2 separate regions of the Homo sapiens genome follow, and region 2 is linked to region 1. Evidence: promoter capture Hi-C in 16 types of primary human blood cells and fetal thymus (Javierre and others, 2016). All regions are on one chromosome and are shown on one strand. Each heading gives the region's core, a stretch centred on a gene start or on the middle of the fragment in contact. The rest is flanking DNA. Distances are from core to core; before and after follow the strand shown. Region 1 holds the start of PSMD5 (proteasome 26S subunit, non-ATPase 5). Region 2 overlaps FBXW2 (F-box and WD repeat domain containing 2).

What was found. The method cuts DNA at HindIII sites, captures the fragments that hold promoters and counts their contacts. A CHiCAGO score of 5 or more calls a contact.
Region 2: a contact is called between a fragment that was not itself captured here and the fragment with the promoter of PSMD5 in region 1, in 6 of 17 cell types (naive CD8 T cells, naive CD4 T cells, non-activated CD4 T cells and 3 more). The highest score is 10.4, in naive CD8 T cells.

Annotation. Positions count from the first base shown.
Region 1 is chr9:120,840,903-120,845,433 of GRCh38, reverse strand. PSMD5 (proteasome 26S subunit, non-ATPase 5) reads left to right here and starts at 2,512. Exons shown (of 10, transcript NM_005047.4): 1 at 2,512-2,697. The coding sequence starts at 2,525. It also overlaps the pseudogene CUTALP. RefSeq lists enhancers at 1,941-2,290, 2,249-2,543, 2,309-2,603, 2,491-2,790, 2,362-2,891 and 1 more. The HindIII fragment of the contact is 10,742 bases long and covers 1,163-4,531 here.
Region 2 is chr9:120,788,449-120,792,979 of GRCh38, reverse strand. The region is part of intron 2 of FBXW2 (F-box and WD repeat domain containing 2); the gene reads left to right. Among named protein-coding and RNA genes, the nearest start is that of FBXW2, 2.7 kb to the left of the region's middle. The HindIII fragment of the contact is 318 bases long and covers 2,104-2,421 here.

The DNA.
Region 1 (4,531 bases), core at 1,263-3,762:
AGGTTCTAGGAAAGCAGAAGACAGATGTGTAGAGCTACTAGGATCTCTAAAAACTGCAGCCATCACAGAATACTGGCTCACAAACCAGATGCATAGATCAGCTCTCACAGCATTTTTTTTAAATTCTTGATTTTGTTAACAAAATTTCCTTTTTTTTTTTAGTCAGAAAAAAAAAATTTCTTTTTTTGTCTCTCTGTCAACCAGGCTCCCCTCAGACTCAGATTCTGTATCCATCACCTTCACCTAAATGACATCCTCTTCTTCATGTCTTCCTTCTCTTTCTTCAAGTCCTTTGCTTTATTTTGAAGGTTCTTTTGCATCTCTTCATAGGTATAAGCAATTTATTGAAACCTTTTTTAAAAGTCAGGCTTCAATCCAGGAAAGGATCCATATGAATTGTAGCATCAGACAGCATTCAATTTCCTCTGCAAAGACTTCTTCCTATGGAAATAGACTCTCAGTGATGACCAAAGACAGAAACTTGAGTAGCTCATTAATTTCACTTTCCCTAATATCAATAAATCTTAAACCCACCTGTTTTGCAGACACTAAGATTTTTTTTAACTTCTTCATTAGCTCTAGGGAAATATGCATCATTCACACATCCTCCCACAGTTTCCAGCAAGCTTAAGAGTGGCTGATTTTATATCACCCATCACCTCTTTTATCACTACCAAAGCATCGGCAATATTGTACTGTTGCCATGCTTCTTTCAGAGTAAGGTGAGGGTTTTTTCAATACAGTCAGCAAAGTGGTCAAACATATGCTTGATTATGTTCAAATGCTTCAGTTATACCCTGACCCAAGGGCTGAAGAAAGCTAGGGCCTTCCTGAGGGAGAAACACAGTATCAACATTAGAATGAACAAAGAATAATGAATCTGGGTGATTGGGACCTCTGTCCACAGTTAGCAACATTCTGATTTCCAGATTTTTTTTGTTAAATGACTTCGGATTTGATGGATAAAAAAATTGTAAAACTAATCCAAAAAGTGGCAGTGGTGATTCTGGGTGTGATTACAAGAAAACAGGAAGGCGTTTATCTCTAAAAGACAAGTGGGGTGTTAGAGTCTTTGTAAAGCAGCAGTGGTTTTATCATTTTGTCACCTGAGGCACTGCCACAAAAAAATGAGGGAAATCCTGTCCTTAGCTTCCTCTAAGCTTTCCAGATTTTTGTCTTTTGCCCCAAAAGTAGGAAGGCATGCACTGCAAAAGATGGGTCATCTCCTTGGCGTTGAAGACCTGTTGAGGCACAAAGCCTCTCTCCAGTTGCTTGGAATACTCGATACCCACTCAGGATTTAAGGGTCCTTCCTCCCCATCAACTTCGTATGTTGCAAAACAGCAGCGATTTTTAAAGTTCTCAAACCATCCCTTGCTCGCATGATACTTATTTGGGTTGTCCTCCCCAGATGTTTCCCATTGGTTCCCTGTAGATGTATTTGGCCTGGTTGCAGAGGGCCTTCCGGGTCAGATGCCGCCCTCTGTCATCTGGCCTTCCACCTAAAAGGTTAACTGGGTCTCCACCTTCACGATGTTTACATTACAGGGGAATACACAGCAGCTTAGAGCAGATGGGCGACCAACTCTCCACGCTGGTCTTTCTTGGTTTCCTGAGGGTAGTGGAGGACAAGAGGGGAAAGCAGGGTCTTGCTCTGTCGCCCAGGCTGGAGTGCAGTGGCACAATCACCGCTCACTGAAGCCTCGACCTCCTAGACTTAGGGGACCCTCCCGCTTCAGCCTCCCGAGTAGCTGGGACTACAGGTGCGTGCCACCACACCGCACTAATTTTTTTCCTTTTTTTTTTTTTTTCTTTTTGGTAGAGACGGGTTTCTCACTATGTTGCCCAGGCTGGTCTCGAACTCCCGGGCTCAAGCGATCCTCCCGCCGCGGCCTCCCAAAGCGCTGGGATTACAGGTACGGCCACTGCGACCAGCTGCTTCTCCTTGGTGGACTGATCAACACCAACAAGGCGGCGCACGTCCCTATTACTCACGCCTTCGTCAGGCTCCTGGAGAATATTCATCCAGTCTTCCAGAGGCATGACGCTCCGCCTCCTCTTGACAGGTGGCTGGCCCAGGATCAAGATTCCCCTCCAGGCCACCGCTCCACCTGGGGAGGCCTCAGCCGCGGCCGTAGCCGCGGTGGCCTCCATAACGGCTGCAGTCGTCCCCGCCTAGAGCCTGGTTTTGGAGCCTCGAGGACGCCGACGAGGCTGTTTAACTTCCCGTGAGTCCCCACCCTCGCCGCTCCGCTGGCCGGGAATTTGGCAAGGCTTTGCCCTACGCGGTAAACACGTAAGCCTACTGGCCTCCGCATTTCCCTGAGCAGCGACCTAGATGACGCCAGACTGAGGGAGCCGCAACCACTGGCTACAGTTGACACGGCCCTAACGGAGGCTTCTCGCGAGGCTTGGCAGCCCCATAGCCATCTCAGGGACAAGGAGGCTGTGATCAGATCTCGCGAGGTTCAGGAAAGCGCCCCGGGAACTGGGCCGCTGGGCCAGCCCCTGCGTCGGGGGGCAAGATGGCAGCCCAGGCTTTGGCGCTGCTGAGAGAGGTAGCGAGGCTGGAAGCGCCGCTGGAGGAGCTACGCGCGCTTCACTCCGTGCTGCAGGCAGTGCCGCTCAACGAGCTTCGCCAGCAAGCGGCGGAGCTGCGCCTCGGCCCGCTCTTCTCCCTGCTTAACGAGAACCATAGGTGAGAGGACCCCGGGGGCTTGAGCCGAGGAGAGGGGCACCCCTAAATATGGACATGAGAGTGGTTGAGGGCAAGAACAGCGCTTTTCCCAGTCACAGGGGAGGTGGAAAGTAGCCGAAATTTGCAGAGAAGGAAGGATCCTGGGTTCAGAGGCAGGAGATGGGGTTCAGGTTCAGCCTCTGAGAGTGCCCCAGGGTGTTTTCTCCCGTCGCCTGGCCTCGCTGCCTCTGAGCAGTGAGGCACTGCCTTCTTCATCAAATAGAAATTAAAGGAGGAAAGCAAAGCTGTCCACTTACAAGGAGCATTCCACATCTCTTTGTACAGGTTCTTGATTTGTTTCCCCTTCTAAAAGGATCCTATCCTGGCAATGTGGCAAGAACCATCAGCATTTTAAATTCACATGCTTTTTCATCCAGTCATTCTTGTTAAAAAAATTTAATGCAAGTATACGCGCACAAAATGTGCAGTTACTTTGTTCTTTCGAACCCGAGGCTGGAATCGCCCCAAAAGCAGCGGCAAGAGAGTTCCCACGAGGGAGTGCTTCAAACCTTCCCGAGATGTGGCTGGTTGGGATGACAGAAAAAGAAGCACTGAATGCCAAGGCGATCAGTCCAAAAGCGTTTAGGGGGAAACCTGCAGAGGGCTGCAGAAATTGTCAAGACGGACACCGGGAGAAAGGTGTTCCTGGGTATGTCCGCAGTGAGGGGGTCAGGGTATGGAGTTCAGATGAGAGTTTAAAGGAATTTGGCTCAGGGTTGAGGCCAGTTTCTTCCAGTGTTTTGGGCAACAACCTAGGTACCTTTATCAGGCCTGTGAATGTTCAAGGCCCCTGGTTTATGGTCAAGCCTGCTAGGGAAACCTGCCGCTGGCTAGGTCAGAGAGCAATCAAGGCACTCTGATTTTCCATCAGGACAGAGAAAGAAAGGGGGCGACTGGAGGACCCTACAACATTATATGCAAGAATATAACATATCGTGTGTGGCACCAGAACACTAGAAACAATCTAAATATCCGTTAACAGAGGATTCCAAATTATGCGCTATTACTCTGTAACACTGTGCAGTTATTTAAGTTATTGAGGTAGATGTATATATATGTATGTGGACATGGAAAGATCTCTGTGTTTTGTTTTGTTTTGTTTTGTTTGTTTGTTTGTTTTCAGACGAGTCTCGCTCTGTCTCCCAGGTTGGAGTGCAGTGGCGCGATCTCGGCTCACTGCAACCTCCGCCTCCCTGATTCACGCCATTCTCCTGCCTCAGCCTGCCGAGTACCTGGGACTACAGGCGCCCGCCACCACGCCCGGCTAATTTTTTGTATTTTTAGTAGAGACGGGGTTTCACCATGTTAGCCAGGATGGTCTCGATCTACGGACCTCGTGATCCGCCCGCCTCGGCCTCCCAAAGTGCTGGGATTACAGGCGTGAGCCACTGCGCCCGGCCAATCTCTGTGTTGTTGAATGAAAAAGAAAATCGCAGGGTATATCAATCTATAATTTTAACCTGTAATTTTTAAAAAGGATTACAATCTTCCCAACCCCCACAGGCATGTAAAACTTGTATAACATTGCAAATATCTGCAAAGGTACACCAGAAACTATTAATAGGGAAGTGGGTCTGAAAATAGTAGGACAACTTTTATTTTTGATTTTTTACACATCCGTAGTGTTTGATTAAAAACACTTTGTAGGCCCGGTGCAGTGGCTCACGCCTGTATTCCCAACACTTTGGGAGGCTGAGGCGGGCAGATCACCAGGTCAAGAGATCGAGACCATCCTGGCCAACATGGTGAAACTCCGTCTCTACTAAAAATACAAAAGTTAGGCCAGGCACGGTGG
Region 2 (4,531 bases), core at 1,013-3,512, 52 kb after region 1:
CAAACGTTTGAAAGACGATGAAGTGTGATGAGGTGGTTTATGAAGTACAAAGCGCTATACTGCGCCATAATTGTGGGTATGCCATGAAAACAGGTGTGTATGTGGGGTGCTGCTTGAAGTAAAGCAAAGATAACAATATTAATGCTAAGTAATAATGGTAACTGACATTTACTGTAGGCTTACAGCGTGCCGAGTACTGTGCTAAACGCTTTACTTGCACTGTCTTGTTTAACCCTCATAAAAACCCTTGTAGGTAATGCTCTTGGCTGTATTTTACAAGTGAGGAAACAGGGCATGAGACAGGTGAAGTGATTTGCCCAAGGTCACCCAGCAACAAGTGGAGTTGCAGAACACATATTTTATAAACATTATTTGTATTCTTTCAAAGCTTTAAAAAAATTCACCTTAAAACTAAAGGCTATTTTTTGATAGTATATTATACTTAACATGGTTTTCAGTTTTAAAAGGTATACAATAAAAAGGGACCCCTCATTCCTATTCTGCAGCTCTCCAGTTCTCTCTGGAGGCAACCAGGGTTATCAGTTTCTTGAATATTCAGAATACATTTTATGCATATGTAAGTTTATAGGTGTGTATACATTTTCAGCGCCTCTGTGCTCTTTGTTTGATAAGAAAAGGGGGAAATGAAGCCTCCTTCCCTCTACCACTAACAATTATGTTGCTTTCACTCTTGACTAGGCCAGGTTCTGATAGAGGAGGAGGGGAAAACACATTTACACTGTTTTCCAGAAGGTCCTGTCTCTAATACCTCTGAGTATAGGTTTTGGGAGAATGGGTACTGGGCAAAATATTGAGCCTGCTACTTCCTGTGCCATTCTGGGAAGGCCACTCCACTTCTTGAGCCGTAAATTTCCTCATTAATGTTAGTTAAGGGCGGCATTACTGATACCTTCCATGAGGTTATGAAGATGAAATGAGATAATGTTTACCAGTGGTACTTTTTCTTTAAAACCAATATAAATATGTGAGTTGCCTAGGTAACATAGGGAGTTAATGGCAGAACCTGAGACCAAACCCAGGCTCTCATTTTCCAATTTAGGAGTCTTTTTGTTGCATGACCCACTTTGTGATTATTGATACTGAAGGCAAGAGGGCAAGTTGAATGTTAACTCTGGGGTAGGGACGTAGGGTAAGGGGGCCAAACAGCAGGGAATGTGGGTAGAATAAGGCACCTACTGGGAAACTAGAGCCTCCAATAAACAGGTGCTCTTCTTTATAAAATTAAACCCCTAGTAAGTTTGAGCCCTTGAGTTTTTCTTCCAGGTATTTTGAAGAGAAACTTAGTGATAAGATGATAGGGTCAAAAGAGATGTTAGTGGTCATGTCCATTCCACCCTTAGTGTCACAGAAATCTTTACTGCCAGGTGTTCATAGTAGTAAAACTAACAAAAAGTACCATTTGAGTTTTTACCCGCTAGACTGTACACTGTGCTAAGCATGTCCCTGCTATATTTCTGAGTTTCACCCTTCAAGTTGGATGATGGCTTCCATTTTACAGATGATAAAACTGAAGCTTAAAAGTTAGTTGGACATGCCCATAATCACATAGGAAGTGGCTGAATCAGTAAAACATCTGGCCAACCTCCAAAGTATTTTCATTTATCACATTCTGCCTCTGTGTCCAACTGTCCTTGACTGTTCGTGGTAATGGGAAACTCACTACTCTGGAGGTAGCTATTCCATTGTTGGAAAGCGCTGAGATTTAAAAGCTCCTCATGTTGAATTGAAATCCCATTTCCTGAGGTTTGTGCAACCAGTGTATGATATTTCTAGAGGCTGCCTAAAAGAGTCCAGTTTAGACCTGTTACCTTAGAAGGCCCCCTCCAAAGTTAGTTGATCTGTTCAGAAAAGTAAAAATTGGTGTTTTTTAAATAGTGCATTCTGCAGTTAGTGAGACTTGCTTTTTTAGGGAAAAAAATGCCTTTTTCAGAATAATCAGAGGTGAACTGCTCAATCTTACAAGGGATTGAGTGGTTTAAAAGGCAATCTAAGAGTTGGGAAAATTTTTTTTATTAAGAGTTAGGAGAATATATAAATCTGAGACATGGCTGAATTTTTTTAGATGTGCTCTCTGAAAAAGCTTCTTCCGTAATCTTTAGCGGTGTCATGGGCACATTAATTTGGCATTTTTTTTTTAAATTTAAGTTCTAGGGTACATGTGCACAACGTGCAGGTTTGTTACATAGGTATACATGTGAATTTGGCATATTATAGTATGTCTCTTAGATATTTGTGAATGATGGGAACCTGATAATATTTTAATGAGTATTCTAAATTTGCCTTGTAGCCGTTTGAATAACAGTTCAGCTCACTTAAATACAAGCATTTCTACAATAGATGTGTGTCAGCATGTGTATGTATGTGTGTATATATGTATGTGTAGATGTGATGGAGGAAGCTTGCCACACCACACTTTTCACTGTTAAAAATGTTTCAGGAGCAGGTGTGTGGTTTTTTTTCTTTTTTTTCTTTTTTGAGATGGAGTCTTGCTCTCTCGCCCCGGCTGGAGTGCAGTGGCGTGATCTCGGCTCACTGCAAGCTCCGCCTCCTGGGTTCACGCCATTCTCCTGCCTCAGCCTCCCGACTAGCTGGGACTACAGGCACCCACCACCATGCCAGGGGAATTTTTTGTATTTTTAGTAGAGATGGGGTTTCACTGTGTTAGCCAGGATGATCTCGATCTCCTGACCTCGTGATCCGGCCGAGCCCACCTCAGTCTCACAAAGTGCTGTGATTACAGGCGTGAGCCACTGTGCCCAGCCTGGTGTGTGTTTTTAATTGACCAGTATTAATTAACTAGCTATTGTGACAATATGCAGATGCCCACAGAAGATAATTGCTTTGTCTTGTTGCAAATTATTATTTTTTAGAAGTAGAGATTTTGAAGAAATGTTGTATAGATAAGAGGGTTGTTAGGATTTAGAGGAAGGAGGGGGCTTGTTATTGCGTGATAAGTCGATAAAACTTTTAGCCATCTGATTATTTTTTGTCAGCTAGGTAAATTTTTAATACAGATTAATAAATCTTCTCTAGCCCAAACTTTGGCTTGAAACGTATTATCTTGAAGTCTAGTCACAGTTCCAGAAATCAAAACTGTTAGCAGATGATGTGATTGCAAGGTTTGGTTGCTTCTACTAATAAATCAGATTGCTTATTTGTCTAAGAATGTTATTGCCAAATTTGATATTGGACACTTACAATTTTACTCACCTTACATTATCAAAGTTGAAAGATGAGATCTTGCTTTTTGTGTAGACCTGATCTAGGTGATATGTCTGGAAAGAAATTAACTTTCCTTTTTCACATTAATTTGGACATATGTTTTTAAAATTAATATGACAGTCTTGTGAGAAACTGAGTATTCAGAAGGAAAGTTTTTATTAAACCATGGAAATATTTAAATATATGGAAATAAAGAGAATAATAAATCCCTATGTACACATCACCCAGCATTAACATCTATCAACACATAGTCTTGAGAAAGATAGTTTTTACTGGTTATATTTTTTGTAATCTTTCATTAGTCTAATCCTCATTAAGAGTGAATTAACACCTGTTGACACTAATACAGGATACTTTAAAAAAAATTATTTGTTACAGTTAGCTCAGGAGCAATTTGTCATTCTCCTAAAGGAGAAAATGGTCTAACGGGTAGACACACTACCTCCAGATCTTACCACTTGGTCGTGGTTCTCCTGGTTGTCACTTATTTTAGAGAGAGAGCTTGGTACCTGATCTTGAGAGCACTGGCGTCCAGTCTGTTCTGTGGCTATTTAGTAGCCCTGTGAATATAGGCAAATCACATACCTTCTCTAACCTGTAGTTTCCTCATTTGCAAAGTGAAGATGATAATGTCTATTTTCTGGTGTTTTATAAACATCAGGATTATTAATTTGCTTTATTTGTGCAGGCCTCCAGGACCCCTCATGGCTCTCGGGGGCACGTGGTTAAGAGTTGTCACTAGCTCATATGAGGTTTAGAAAAACAGACTAAAGCCACATAAGTTCTTTTATAATTCATGTTCTAAACAGGCAGTGCCATAAAGAAGTTGGAAGAACCAGAATTCCTGAGGCAGATAACTTACCACACCTGCTTTTCTTCCCTAAACCTTTTCATCTGAACATCTGTTGCAAAACCAAGTAGTCAGTTCTATGATTTTGGTGACAGGTTGTGCCTGCCATGACAATCAGTGTCTCAGGTTACTGCTCAGGAGACTGTTTCTGATTGTCACATCCTGGTGCTTGCTTTTGTGATTTTAGTACCCAAATAGAATGTATTAAGGAATTCATTAAGGAAATTGTTTTATAATGGTTTTGATGGGGGAAGGGTGTATTGTAAAATATACTGTTTTATAATGAATTGTTGGTAAATCTATTACTATGAAGATGCATGTAGCACGTGCTAGACTTCAAGAGGAATAAGTCACACACGCCAGTCTGTTTCACTGACATGTTTTGGATTCATGATTTGTTAAAGTATGTTTTCTCAAATGTGTTTTCTTTTGTGTGCA